Regions from separate parts of the Homo sapiens genome. Here all the other regions are linked to region 1. Evidence: promoter capture Hi-C in 16 types of primary human blood cells and fetal thymus (Javierre and others, 2016). All regions are on one chromosome and are shown on one strand. Each heading gives the region's core, a stretch centred on a gene start or on the middle of the fragment in contact. The rest is flanking DNA. Distances are from core to core; before and after follow the strand shown.

Region 1 (2,845 bases), core at 218-2,717:
TTAAGACTGTATTGGTCAGGTGCAGTGGCTTACGCCTATAATCCCAGCACTTTGGGAGGCTGAGGTGGGCGGATCATTTGAGGTGAGGAGTTCGAGACCAGCCTGGCCAACATGGTGAAACCCCATCTCTACTAAATATACAAAAATTAGCCAGGCGTGGTGGTGTGCACCTGTAGCCTCAGCTACTGGGGAGGCTGAGGCGGGAGAATCGCTTGAACCCGGGGGGTGGAGATTGCAGTGAGCCAAGATGGTGCCACTGCACTCCAGCCTGGGTGACAGAGTGAGACTGTCTCAAAAGAAAAAAAAAAAAAGACTGTATTATGACTTTCCTGAGACCTAGGCACTTTTGCCTTCAAGGGCCCCTTCGTCTAAGTTATTAAAAATAATATTTTATGACTGCATTGGTATAAAACGAACATAATACAGGCTGGATTCGTTATCATATTCATAAACATTATGGTTTTTTTAAAAAAGAAATTTAAATTAAAAGACTTTCGTAGACCCCTAAAACTATCATGGGTTCAGGCAGGAGAATCGCTTGAACCCAGGAGGCGGAGGTTGCAGTGAGCCAAGATCGCGCCACTGCACTCCAGCCTGGGCAACAGAGTGAGACTCTGTCTCAAAAAACAAACAAACAAAACAAAACAAAACAAAAACCTCTCTTCCTCCCCAGTTCATCTGCATCTCATTATTGGGCGGCACGGTACTTACTGTGCCTAAAGAATAAGTTGGCCCTGAGCCTCTTTACCTGTCTACATATTACCTGTCTTCATATTCCTTAGCATAGGTGGGCTTCTCGGCAAGATGACTTTGCATCTGTGGGACTAGAACCTAGCCTTTGGGCAGGTGGAACGCAACAATAAGCTTGTGCCCTAGAGATACAGATCTCAGCTCTATACCTTTCTAGACTCAGCTTCATCCGCAAATTAGCATTAATTGGGATGGTGAATAACAACGTTTTAGAAATGCTAATAATGTAAACACGATCTATCTGGCTACTTCAGGAAAACCCCTCATATAGCTCGTGCTCCGTCTCTCCTGTCAAGCCCCAAGCCCACAACTTGTCCCGGCTCCCTCCGGATCCCACCAAGGTCACCCTGGAAGCGTCCTCCCTTTTCTCGCCCCGCACCCGCTTCACGCCCGTTCTCCCTAGGCCAGCACCCACCAGCAGCCTTCGGAAAGCCACGAGTGAGGAAGCCCCCAAATCCGAGGCGAGTGCCAAGGGGCCGGCCAGACAGAGCTGCCACCGCAGTAACCGAAACCCGCCGCAACAAACTCATGGCCGCCATGGCTACTACGGGCAGGAGGAAGAAGGGAGGCGGGTCACGGAAGCTGAGAGAGCCAATTTACCAATGAGGACAAAGGCAGGATGTGGCCATCTTAAGTGAGGGCAAGTTTTCTATTCTCCTCACCGCCGGCTTGAGACGCCGGAAGTGACGCTATCGTTGGCGGAAACGCGTTTTGCCAGTTATGCGAAAACATGGCTGCGGCCGGTTTGGCCCTTCTTTGTAGGAGAGTTTCATCCGCCCTGAAATCTTCCCGATCGTTAATAACTCCTCAGGTCCCTGCCTGCACAGGGTAAGTGATGTATAAAGTAGGTTTGCCCACCTCTCCAACTTTGGATCTTGTTTGGTTGCCGAGATGCCGAGATGCCGAGAACAACTCAAGAATGGAACGGCCGCCTGGATGGCAGAGCCGGAGCCCACTTTGGTGAGGAGTGAGTGACCTTGGAGAAGTCGCTCACCTCCGACATTTCTATTCCTTCCTCATTTTGTTGCTGCCTGCTGTGGACAAGACAGTATATGGGGTTTGTAGATGTCCAGCATTTGTTGAAGTAAATACATCTATAAGTACAGAAGCATCCTCTTGGGCTGGGTGAGGTGCGAAAAACTTTACCGAAGATGTTTTTGTTGTGATACTCAAGTCTGTGTCAAGTTTGGATGGATTAAAAAAGAAGAGATATTTGTATTTACAGGATGTGTTACAATGAAAGTAACTGGTAACTTAGTAACTTCTTTTATTTATTTATTTTTCTTGGTCCTGGATCCAGTGAAGTATCCATTTATTACATTGGTTGCCATGACTCTTTAGTCTCTATCCGGAACAATTTCTTTTTTTTTTTTTTCTTAATGTTGTTGACATTTTGATGAGATTAGCTTTTTAAGAATCTTATTCATTTGGATTTGTCTGATTGTTTCCTCATTATAAGATTTAGGCTAAATATTTTTGGTAGGGATACAACACTTGTGATAAACTTCATTATTTAGTTTCAAATCATCTCAGGTCGTTAACTATTTTTTAAAAACAGGATTTTTGAATTACTGCATAATAATTTATCATCCAGATGCACAGTAATTTTTAAACCATTCTTAGCTGCGTATTTACATAATTAAAAACTTGACATCCTATATAGTGCTTTAATAAACATCTTAATTTATAAATTCCCATCTATAATAATTTTTTCAGTTGAAACTTCTAGATGCAGAATTACTGAATTAAAGGAGGAAGTATTTGAGGCTCCTGATACATGTTGCAAAATTGTGAGGTTTTTTTGTTTTTGTTTTTTGAGACAGGGACTGACTCTGTCGCCCAGGCTGGAGTGCAATGGTGTGATCTCAGCTCACTGAAACCTCTGCCTCCCAGGCTCAAAGCGTCCTCCCACCTCAGCCTCCCGAGTAGTTGGGACTATAAGGCACGTGCTACTATGCCTGGCTAATTTTTGTATTTTTGTTAAAGATGAGGTTTTGCCATCTTGCCCAGGCTGGTCTTGAGCTCCTGGGCTCAAAGTGATCCTCCCACCTCGGCCTTCCAAATTTCTGGGATAACAGGTGTGAGCCACCGTGCC
Region 2 (2,845 bases), core at 252-2,751, 590 kb after region 1:
GATCCCCATAACTGGGGTATTAGGGGTGGATCTAGTTATTTCTTCTTTATTCCTCTCTTTCAGTACTATGGATAATTTAGAAGATTGCTGTTTTCAAAAAGAATTGTTTTTTTTTTTCGAAATACATAAGTCCTGAACTCACTCCTGAACTCCATGCTGCCATGTCCCCCCTGCCCAGCGGCAATTGATCGCGGTTAGCAGTTTCTTGAGTCTTTTCCAGATAAAGTCTATGTAACGTGAATGGAGGCATTCCATCCCTACTGTTCTGTTCATCACCTTGGGGTATGTGTGTGTGTGTGTATGTGTGTGTGTGTGTGTGTGACCTTGGCAAGCATTCCATACCAGCACATGTGGATCTATTTCATTGTTTTTCATTCTGTGGTGTTTCCTTGTATGATTTCTAAAATTTCTGTTATTGATCCTCTATTGATGGACATTTATGTAATAATAATTTAAAAAAATTAAACCCTTAAAAATAGCAAAACATATAAAATTTACCATTTTAACCATTTAGTTTACAATCATAATCACTCTCCATCTCCAGAAATTTTTTATCTTCCCAAACGGAAATTTTACTCATTAAACAATAACTCCACATTCTCTCTTCCCCAGTCCCTGGTAACCACCATTCTACTTTCTGTCTCTATGATTTTGACTACTTGAGGTACCTCATATAAGTGGAATCATATGACAATTGTCCTTTTGTGTCTGGCGTATTTCACTTGGCATAATGTCCTCAAGGTTCATCCATGTCGTAGTATGTATCAGAATTTCCTTCATTTTTAAAAATTATTTTTAATTAGGGATATATAATATTGTACGTATTTATGGGGTACATGTGTCATTTTGATACAAACATTCAATGTGTAATGATCAAATCAGGGTAATTGGGGTATCTTATCACCTCAAGCATTTATCAACTTTCCTTCCTTTTTAAGGCTGAATAATATCCCATTGCATGTATCGATGACATTTTGTTTATTCATCCACTGATGGACACTTACGTTGCTTCTACCTTTTAGCTATTGTGAATAATGCTACTGTGACCATAGGTGTACATAGCTGAAGACTTGGAAAATTATAAATTATTTTATATATGCAAAGTGTATAAAAGTTTAATTTTTTTCACTGAAGCTTTGATAATTTGAGTCTGTAAAACAAACTGACCATGGATTAACAGGAAAAAAGGCATACAGATTTATTAATGTACATATGGGCATGGGAGTCATACAAAATATGAAAAACTCAAATGTCCAGACAGCTGATGCTGTAAACCAAAAAGTATCTGAGACAGATCTCAATCAACTGAGAGTTATTTTGCCAAGGTTGATGATACACCCAGGAAAAAAAGCCACTAGCCACAATAGAATCTGTGGCCCACACTTTTTTTCCAAAGAGGATTTTGAGTGCTTCCATATTTAAAGGGGAAAACATGGGCAGGAGAGAAAAGAAGTGTAGATGAAAGAGGCAAGAAGTTGCAATCTTTTGAAGATTTCATCAGCGTTCAGTGGATCCACATTTTACATGTGAAAGGAGAGGGTAGAGGCATTTGTCTCATGCTCAGTGAATCTACGTTTTTACATAAGATAAGTAAACAGAATAGAGGAAGCAGTCAAATATGCATTTGTCTCAGGTGAGCAGAGGTATGACTTCTGGTTCTATCCTTTGTCCCGTTCTTCTGAAGATAAATTGTTTGTTATTGTCAGGGTGAAATTCAACAGAACTGTTTTAGGGTAAGGATCTTGAGGGCCCACAAAAAATTTGCTCGTGAGCAAATTGCGAGGGAGGTATGTAGGTAGTCTTTCATCTTTGTAGCTGTTGAGGAACAAAATGGGAGGCAGTTTTGTGTGACTCAGTTCTCAAGCTTGACTTTTTCCCTTAGGTATGGTGAATAGGGGGTCCCAAAATTTTATTTTCCATTCACAACTCTTTAATACTATCTTGAGGTTACAGAAAGAATAGGGGCTTGAAGCTTGTCAAGACAGGTTATGGTGGCATGAGAGGTTATGGGAAGGAGAGAAGAGGCAAGGTGTGCTGCAAAGGTGGTCTTGTTATGCAGATGATCTCACAGGTAGCAGCCCTCAGAAAGGAAAAATGGGAGGCCAGGTACGGTGGCTCATGCCTGTAATCCCAGCACTTTGGGAGACCAAGGCAAGTGGATCACCTGAGGTCAGGAGTTCGAGACCAGCCTGGACAACATGGTGAAACCCCGTCTCTACTAAAAATACAAAATTAGCTGGGTGTGGTAGCGGGTGCTTATAGTCCCAGCTACTTGGGAGGCTGAGGCAGGAGAATAGCTTGAACCCGGGAGGCGGAGGTTGCAGTGAGCTGAGAGCACACCACTGCACTCTAGCCTGGGCGACAGAGCAAGACTCCATCTCAAAAAAAAAAAAAAAAAAAAAAAAGAGATGGGAGCCTGTGGTAGATGTTTCTATAAAACCTTTAAAGGTGTCAGGCTCTCAGTTAATCTTGCCTTGTTCTGGACAAGGTGGGGCTTCAGAAAAAGCCTGTTTGCATCTGTTGTTTACTTCACTTTATTTCCTCTAGAGATGCAAATCCCCGTAAAAGACTCAGCTTTGCAGGCTGATTCTTGTGTTGCAGGCCCTCTGAATAGTCATCTCAAAATATGTCAAAGAAGTATATTTTGGAGTGAAACATTTCTTAGTTTCCTTTAGTCCCCCACTTGAAACTTTAGAACGTTTCGCTTATTAATGTTTGGGCGCAGTGGCTCATGCCTGTAATCTCAACACTTCAGGAGGCTGAGGTGGGTGGATCGCTTGAGCCCAGGAGTTTGAGATCAGCCTGGGAAATATGGCAAAAGCCCATCTCTACAGAAAAAAAAAAA
Region 3 (2,845 bases), core at 235-2,734, 570 kb after region 1:
TCAAGAATTATTACTTGGGTTTATAATGAGGAGAATTCTAGGAGGACAAGATTAACAGCAGAGACCAATTAGGAGTTGTTACCTACTGCAAATGACCACTGTTACCTACTGCAAATGAAAAATGTTGGTACCTTGGATTACTGTGGTATTTGTAGTATCCATGGAGAGAAGTGGAGTGATGTGGGATGTATTTTGAATGACAAGACTTGCTGATGGGTTGAATGTGTTGGGCTTAGGGAAGGATGGAATCAGGAAAAGGACCCCTTGGCTTTTCTTGGGTAATTTTGTGGATGGTGGTGCCATTTACCTACTGTGGATGACTAGTGGTGGTGGTGATGGTGGTGATGAGAAAGTTCTATGGAGGAGGAATCAAAAGTTGTTTTAAGTTGGATATGCCTCTTAAGACGTGAAAGTATGGATGACCAGGAGGAAGCTGGATATGTGGTTCTGAAGGTCAAAGATGGAGATTGATGATTTGGGGAGTCACCAACTTACTCATGGTATTTGAAAGCTATAGGTCTGGGTAGAATAACCTAGAGTCAGAGAATAAAAGAGGGCTAAGGGTGCGTCCTTGGACATTGTAGAGTTTAGAGGTCTGATAGAGGAGGAGAGGTGGGGAGGGAAGAAGGAGTATAGATGATAGTAGGAGGAATGTTTCAAGAAGGAAATGAACTGTGTCATGCTACTTTGAGTTCCAGTAAGATGAAGGCACATATGTGACCACTGGATTTGACTCTGGAGTTCACTGTGACCATGGTAAAAGCACCTTTAGGGTATTGAAGTGAGGAGAAGATGGATCTTAGTTCATTACTCTATTTAGCTGCTTAGGTATCTGTCTCCTCCTCTATGTGCTAGTCCTTAGTTTATTTCTAGGGCTTAGCATATAAATAGATGGTGAATAAATGTTTGCCTGCAGGTTTGAGTTTTACAATGCAGTTTAAAGAATAATATACTGTTTTACCCTTATTTAGAATGCTTTTGTACTATTGACCCTTGCCACTAGTTTGTGTCAGTTCAAGGAATATAATCATGTGACTAATAAAACGTGATGAGAAAGGCAAGTTGATGTTAGTAGAGGTTCCTAGTGCATCTTGAAGCCATCATGCTGTAGTGGAAAAGGGCCATTCTTTGATTTGGAAGGCCTGTCTCAGGCTTTGGCTGTGCTATTTAGCCCTTGAGAAGGGAGCTGGGGGCAAGCTCCTTACAGTCTCTGGATTGCAGTTCCTTGGCTGTCATAAATGGACAATATTAACAAATTCCTCTTACAAGATTTTTGTGAGCAGCAAATGAATAAATGCAATGAACATCCTTTGTAAGTAAAAAGATACTCTGTAAGGGCAATTTTAAAAGAATAATTGGATTATCCATTTCATTACTAACTTATAAAGTACATTAGATCAGAGTGTCATGAAATTCATATTTATCTGTGGCATATAAATGGCAAGAAGTTGGGTGAGGACATAAGTCACTGGAAAATGTGATACTTCTTTTTTTTTTTTCCTAAAATCCCATATTCTTTTCTTTTCTTTTCTTTCTTTCCTTTTTTTTAAAATTTTTTTAGTATTTATTGATCATTCTTGGGTGTTTCTCGGAGAGGGGGATTTGGCAGGGTCATAGGACAATAGTGGAGGGAAGGTCAGCAGATAAACACGTGAACAGAGGTCTCTGGTTTTCCTAGGCAGAGGGCCCTGCCGCCTTCCGCCTTCCGCAGTGTTTGTGTCTCTGGGTACTTGAGATTAGGGAGTGGTGATGACTCTTAACGAGTATGCTGCCTTCAAGCATCTGTTTAACAAAGCACATCTTGCACCGCCCTTAATCCATTTAACCCTTAGTGGACACAGCACATGTTTCAGAGAGCACGGGGTTGGGGGTAAGGTTATAGATTAACAGCAGCCCAAGGCAGAAGAATTTTTCTTAGTACAGAACAAAATGGAGTCTCCTATGTCTACTTCTTTCTACACAGACACAGTAACAATCTGATCTCTCTTTCCTTTCCCCACACTTCCCCCTTTTCTATTCGACAAAACCGCCATCGTCATCGTGGCCCGTTCTCAATGAGCTGTTGGGTACACCTCCCAGATGGGGTGGCGGCCGGGCAGAGAGGCTCCTCAATTCCCAGACGGGGCGGCCGGGCAGAGACGCCCCCCCACCTCCCAGACGGTGTAGCGGCCGGGCGGGGGCTGCCCCCCACCTCCTGGATGGGGTGGCTGCCGGGCGGAGACGCTCCTCACTTCCCAGATGGGGTGGCTGCTGGGTGGAGGGGCTCCTCACTTCCCAGACGGGGCGGCTGCGGGGCAGAGGGGCTCCTCACTTCTCAGACAGGGTGGCTGGTCAGAGACGCTCCTCACCTCCCAGATGGGGTGGTGGTGGGGCAGACACACTCCTCAGTTCCCAGACGGGGTCGCGGCCGGGCAGAGGTGCTCTTCACATCTCAGACGGGGCGGCGGGGCAGAGGTGCTCCCCACATCCCAGACGATGGGTGGCCGGGCAGAGACGCACCTCACTTCCCAGACGGGATGATGGCCGGGAAGAGGCGCTCCTCACTTCCCAGACTGGGCGGCCGGGCAGAGGGGCTCCTCACATCCCAGACGATGGGCGGCCAGGCAGAGACGCTCCTCACTTCCTAGACGGGGTGGCGGCCGGGCAGAGGCTGCACTGTTGGCACTTTGGGAGACCAAGGCAGGCGGCTGGGAGGTGGAGGTTGTAGCAAGCCGAGATCACGCCACTGCAGTCCAGCCTGGGCAACATTGAGCACTGAGTGAGCGAGACTCTGTCTGCAATCCCGGCACCTCGGGAGGCCGAGGCTGGCAGATCACTCGCGGTCAGGAGCTGGAGACCAGCCCGG
Region 4 (2,845 bases), core at 149-2,648, 540 kb after region 1:
ATGGGACAATTTAAGCAGCTAAAAACCAGGGTAAAGATGGGAAAGAAAAGAGGCAAGCAAGTAATCAGAAAGTAGGAGCTTACAGAAAATGAAAAGTTTGGGTATAATAAAGTATATTGCTAAGACTTCAGAAGCAAAGATTCGAATGAGACTGATGTTATTGGTAACTCTTAAAGAGAGAAGGTTTTAACAGACAACTAAGGCAAAGCAGTTCATGTGTAAAAATACAGAGCAATTATGTTAGGGTAACATAGAAGAAAGGTAATCTTAGAAGTGAAATCTGGATTTCAATAAGATAGAAATGGTCAAGATGAGAGTGGATAGTGCAAAGTGTAGATCAGAATAATAAACAGAGTGTGAACATAACTCTAGAAGTGGGTGAGCTACCAAAGAAGGAAAGCGTAGAAATGTTAGCCAAAAAGATGCATCAGAGGGTGTACATGAATAAGCAGTAATAAAAGAAAGATTACTGAAGACAAGGCTAAGACCAGGCCAGGTGTGGTGCCTCACACCTGTAATTCTAGCACTTTGGGAGGCTGAGGCGGGAAGATAGTTTGCGTTCAGGAGTTCAAGACCAGCATGGACAGCATAACAAGACCCTGTCTCTACAAAAATACAAGGAAATTAGCTGGGCATAGTGGCAGACACTTGTAGTCCCAGCTACTCGTGAGGCTGAGACAGGAGGCTCACTTGAGCCTGGGAGATTGAGGCAGCAGTGAGCTATAATCATGCCACTGCACTCCAGCAAACAAAGACAACAACAAAAAACACACAAAAAAGAGAAGGATAAGACCAATGAGTAAGGCTTACCAAGCACAGGAATAAGTAGAATGCCAATGATTGTAGACTAATAAAGTGGTTTAGGATTAAATGAGATGATGGATGTAAAATTTTATTTCAAGACTAAAAACTTACTAATTTTTAATACAGAGCATTACCAAGCTGTACCTTCATTATTTCAGTTATGTGTGAGATAAAATGGGTCACGGGTAGCCTGTTTATGAGCTAGAAACACATTTGTGTGAAGTGATAAATCACTGTGATTACATTACTCAAAACTTTTTAGTCAGTTGATGCCATTGTTGAAATCGTGGAGTTTCAAATTGCCTCGGGTATTGTAAACAATGGTGGTTACACTAGAGCCGGACTGTATCATGTGCCAGTAATCCAGGACACGCAGTGGAAACTGCCCAATAAATACTTCCCTTTAAGCTCACTAGCATTTTTTCCTGACATCCCAGTGTTCCCAAGCTGGGGCTACCTTAGCAGTGACCCATGTGTATCTGTAGTCATCACAGATTTAGTTTTATTCCAAGGACTTTTAAAAACTGGTCAGTTGGCTTCAAAACATCATTAGCTATTGTTTTATTTTTAATGAAGCCATCAAATATTATATTCTTAAAATTAGGGCTTTGGATATAACTTAATTTAAAATCCAATCTTTGGAGGAGAAACATATTTTCATTTTATTAAAGTCTATCTGCAGGCTTCAGGTTACTTAGGGCAAGGCTGGCATGGGGTAACATACCACTGTTTCATCAGCATAAATGCCCAGAGGAAGAATTGCTTTAGCAGGGAAGGTTATTAACAGAAATAAAGAAAAGCAAAAAGCACGGATGAATTTTGCTAAGGCATCCACAGTTTAAAGTCACCAGTTTATTTGCTAATTTGCATGTATATATTTAAAAAGATCTACTTACTCAAAGTACATTTATAAAATTTGTCATAAACATGGCTTTCTATTTGTAATAGTTAGTGGCCAGATAGCAACCTACCATGAATTAGATTGATTAGAGAAAGAGAACACAGGTGAAAGAATAGTTTTAGAATTAGGATGCTGAGTGTAGTGGTCTTAATTCATAATTCATAATGAAGAGAATGCTATTAGATTTTTCCCAAAATTTAAAGCACTGATTTTGGCACTTACATTTTAATATTGATCACCCAGGTTTGGATCACTGAATTAAATCTCAGCTAATTTTCATGTATTCAAAATTCTCCTATCTGATTTTTTTCCAAATGGACTTGCAGTGGACTGAGAATGGCCAAAACACACTTCAGATTTGGTTTTAATGCATGTGCTTTACACGTGGCATATATGCTTTGGAATCTAACAACTTTGGGCTAGGATCTTGGCTCAGTTACTTTAGGCAAGACACTGAATCTCTCTTTATTCAATATCTGTAAAGTAGGGGTCATTGTACTTCCTCTGCAGGATTGTGAGACTTGCATATGTTATCTTAATAAATGCTGGTTGATTGAAATAGGTTGCTATTGTTTAGAAGTGTTTGGGTCTCAAATGAGCAGAATGAGATGGCACACAGCTGTCTTACTGTTGTTACTACCTTGATAGTAACTTGCTGTAGGACCTTGTGTAAATAAGCAAAACTTTGTTTTCCTTGATTGTTCTCCCGAGATAGTCTTTTAGATCCAGATACCAGGTTACCTTAAAAGATTCTCATGAAGAATAATTCAACCAACAAATGAGGCAAAATAAAATGATTTTCAAATGTAAATATGCTTTCAACCATACTACTCGTCTGTCAGCTTAGTCCATTTACCCAATAATCAATCCTTGTTGGTTTTCTTGTTCTGCTCTCTGAAATCGCCAGCTCTGTAGGCTTTTCTAGCTCTTGCTTTGATCACTTTAGAGGACAGAAGCTCTCTGTGATCCTGCCAGTTTTTTGCCTCCTCCTCTAGTCTACCCCTACCTCATTTCTTCTTATTTCGAAATGATAGATACCCTTTCTTTTGTCCAAGTTTGATTCCTCATCCTGTTTTCTGGATTTCATCACCTTTTCACCTCAATCAAAAACTATGCCCAAGTCTTTTCTATATAAATAAA
Region 5 (2,845 bases), core at 117-2,616, 520 kb after region 1:
ACTGGAAATACATTGTTTTTTCAACCTAACAATCCTATGAAGCTGGTCTTATTTTCTGCATTTTAGATTAGGGAAGTGAAGTTCCATGCTAAGTCAGAAGGCCTTAAGTACCTGCATTCAAATTTGAATTCAGATGCTCAAATTCCAAAGTTTGTAATCCTTCCAATGAGTCACATTGCCTTAAATTCACTGTGATCTATGCTTTGCTACTCAAAGTGTGACATCACCTGGAAGCTTGTTAGAAATGCAGAATCACAATCCCAACGTCAGACTACTGAGACATTATCTGTACTTTAAAAAGATTGCCAGGTGATTCGCATGCATGTTCAAGTCTGAGAAGCTCTGATCTAGTAGAAACAAAGGTACAGGGAGATGTAAGCTGAATAACTTTGAACGGTAACCTAACATTTCAGAATCATCTCTAAAATAAGTAAAATAATATCTACCTCACTGGAATTATTGTGACTGAGAAAAGAAAAATATCTCAGAGCAGTCTGAGCTATGCAAGGTGTACAAAACTTATTAGGCCAAGAACAACATGAATATGGGACTTCAGTCATTCATGCGCTAACCCCCTTGTGCCTGGGGCAGTTATTTAAAGGCATTTGTTCCTGACTAGCTGCCTCACTCACTATCTCAATGTTCTGGAATTTGTGTTACAAAGAACAATGTATAGTCAAACAACAGCTTAAAATTTTTTTTTAGAGATGGTGTCTTGCTATGTTGCCCAGGCTGCTTTCAAACTCTTGGCCTCAAGGGATTCTGCCACTTCAGCCTCCCGAGTAGCTGAGATTATAGATGTGAGCCACTTCACTGGCTCTCATGTTTTGTAATGTAAATTCTTGGTAAACAACTTAGGAACTGCCTCTTCTGCTTTATAAGCCTACTTGTAACTGCTGCTAATTGGAACATATATTCAGGGCAACATGAATCTCTGCTCCCAGGTTGCAATCCTCAAACTTGCCCCAATTAAACTCTCTACTTATATTAAATTTGCATCATTTTTTTCTTTAGGTCAACATGAGGATGATATGAGCTAGGGTATAAAAGCCCTGGCTAGAGTACCTAGCTAGGGTATAGTGCCTGGCATAGTAGGCTCTTACTGTAGTATCCTTACATTCCAACATTAAATAAATGTATCATTCTTCTCGTTGTTGGACAGCACTGATAAACACATACACAAAATGATGCAGATAAGAATGTATGTATGCATAATGAACAAGCATTTCCTCAAAATAGTATTGTGACTGCAAGCGTAAAAGGTCAAAGGGAAATATGGTTTGATTTTCTTTGTCATAATGGGTATACAAAATTAAGTTCACACTAGCGATGTCAATGGCAAAGCAACAATGAAAGCTAACCAATTTGAATAAGAGACACAGAATTAAAACAAAAGTTAACTCTAGTAATTTTAGAAGTAGCAGAGAAGTTGTGTAGGTTGAGAGAGGGAAAAGAATATTGGATCAGAAAAGGAATACAGTTTTTAGGAAAGTTGCTAATTATTTCTACTGCTTTCAGATCATAAGACCTAAATTGGATAATCATATAACTCACAGGATACAGAAAAGAAATGTGATTGCTATTGTATTAAAAATATTCATTTTCTCTCTTGTATATTGATAGACCTGTCCACAAGGAAGAGTGTAGAATTTTAGCAATAGTACAAGTAGACAATAAAGTATTTTAAACACTTGAATATAATTCAAGACTTTGGTAATTTTTCTCTATGCCAGAAATATTACATAAAAGAAAATGCTTTTTTTTTTAGAATTTCATTAAATATTGTACATACAATGAAGAAAATCACAAAATGTTAGTGAAGAGCATGAAAGTCTTCAATCATTGTACAGTGGTAGGAAAGAGAATAGTGTAAAATTTTAACTTATCCACAAATGTATGTATAGATTTGACAAAATTCAATTGAAATCGCAATGGAAGTTGAGGAATTTGACAATGTGATTCTAAAGTTAATCAAGAAGTATAAACAACAAATACTAAGCAAGGAAAGTAAAAATAAAACAAACAAAAAACTAGGAATGAGAGATACACATTTTTAACGAAGTAATCTGTATACATAGTTTAAAGAGTCACAAAAAGGTAGGGGGACTTATATTAATCTCCGCCTAAAAAATTACCCCAAGCTGGCTGGGCACAGTGGCTCACGCCTGTAATCCCAGCACTTTGGGAGGCCGAGATGGGTGGATTGCCCGAGGTCAGGAGTTCAAGACCAGTCTGGCCAACATGGTGAAACCCTGTCTCTAATAAAAATACAAAAAAATTAGCTGGAAGTGGTGGCGGGTGCCTGTAATCCCAGCTACTGGGGAGGCTGAGGCAGAGGAATTGCCTCTGCTGAGGCAGAGATGGAGGTTGCAGTGAGCCGAGATCGCTCCATCGCACTCCAGTCTAGGTGACAGAGCGAGACACCGTCTCAAAAAACAAACAACCCCCCACCAAAAAAAAACCAAAAAACAAAAAACCCCAAAATTACCCTAAGCTTAGCAGTTTATAACAACATTCATTACCTCACATGGTCTCTGTGGTTAGGTCTCTGGGACTGATTTAATTGGATGGTTCTGATTCAGGGTCTCTCATGAGGTTGCAGTCAAGTCAGGAGGCGGCCATCTAAAGGCTTGACTGGAACTTGGACGATCTACTTCTAAGGTCACATGCCATGTGGGCCCCTCCAGAGGGCAGTTTCAGTGAGGCAAGGGTCTCTAAAAGAGCAAGCAGTTCGTCTTCACAAGTAGCTCTTTTAATAGGTTCACATTCTGATCTTTTAGGAGCAAAAATTTCCAGAAGCAAGTAACGAAGTTTTGTTCTGCTTGTTCTAGTTTTGTTAAACACA

Evidence for each region. The method cuts DNA at HindIII sites, captures the fragments that hold promoters and counts their contacts. A CHiCAGO score of 5 or more calls a contact.
Region 2: a fragment that was not itself captured here is called in contact with the fragment with the promoter of MRPL47 in region 1 in 7 of 17 cell types (fetal thymus, non-activated CD4 T cells, total CD8 T cells and 4 more); the score reaches 9.4 in fetal thymus.
Region 3: a contact is called between a fragment that was not itself captured here and the fragment with the promoter of MRPL47 in region 1, in 3 of 17 cell types (activated CD4 T cells, fetal thymus and non-activated CD4 T cells). The highest score is 6.6, in activated CD4 T cells.
Region 4: a contact is called between a fragment that was not itself captured here and the fragment with the promoter of MRPL47 in region 1, in 1 of 17 cell types (non-activated CD4 T cells). The highest score is 5.1, in non-activated CD4 T cells.
Region 5: a fragment that was not itself captured here is called in contact with the fragment with the promoter of MRPL47 in region 1 in 1 of 17 cell types (activated CD4 T cells); the score reaches 5.3 in activated CD4 T cells.

Annotation. Positions count from the first base shown.
Region 1 is chr3:179,603,260-179,606,104 of GRCh38, reverse strand. It overlaps MRPL47 (mitochondrial ribosomal protein L47), which reads left to right and starts at 1,467. Exons shown (of 7, transcript NM_020409.3): 1 at 1,467-1,578. The coding sequence starts at 1,481. NDUFB5 (NADH:ubiquinone oxidoreductase subunit B5) reads right to left here and starts at 1,311. Exons shown (of 6, transcript NM_002492.4): 1 at 1,166-1,311. The coding sequence starts at 1,289. RefSeq lists enhancers at 726-815, 846-1,005, 444-1,310, 1,186-1,385, 1,311-2,177. The HindIII fragment of the contact is 8,643 bases long and covers 867-2,845 here.
Region 2 is chr3:179,012,154-179,014,998 of GRCh38, reverse strand. No RefSeq gene overlaps it. Among named protein-coding and RNA genes, the nearest start is that of ZMAT3, 58 kb to the left of the region's middle. The HindIII fragment of the contact is 730 bases long and covers 1,137-1,866 here.
Region 3 is chr3:179,032,211-179,035,055 of GRCh38, reverse strand. The region is part of intron 2 of ZMAT3 (zinc finger matrin-type 3); the gene reads left to right. Among named protein-coding and RNA genes, the nearest start is that of ZMAT3, 38 kb to the left of the region's middle. The HindIII fragment of the contact is 8,661 bases long and covers 1-2,845 here.
Region 4 is chr3:179,062,376-179,065,220 of GRCh38, reverse strand. The region is part of intron 2 of ZMAT3 (zinc finger matrin-type 3); the gene reads left to right. Among named protein-coding and RNA genes, the nearest start is that of ZMAT3, 8.0 kb to the left of the region's middle. The HindIII fragment of the contact is 6,023 bases long and covers 1-2,845 here.
Region 5 is chr3:179,079,981-179,082,825 of GRCh38, reverse strand. No RefSeq gene overlaps it. Among named protein-coding and RNA genes, the nearest start is that of ZMAT3, 9.6 kb to the right of the region's middle. The HindIII fragment of the contact is 2,260 bases long and covers 237-2,496 here.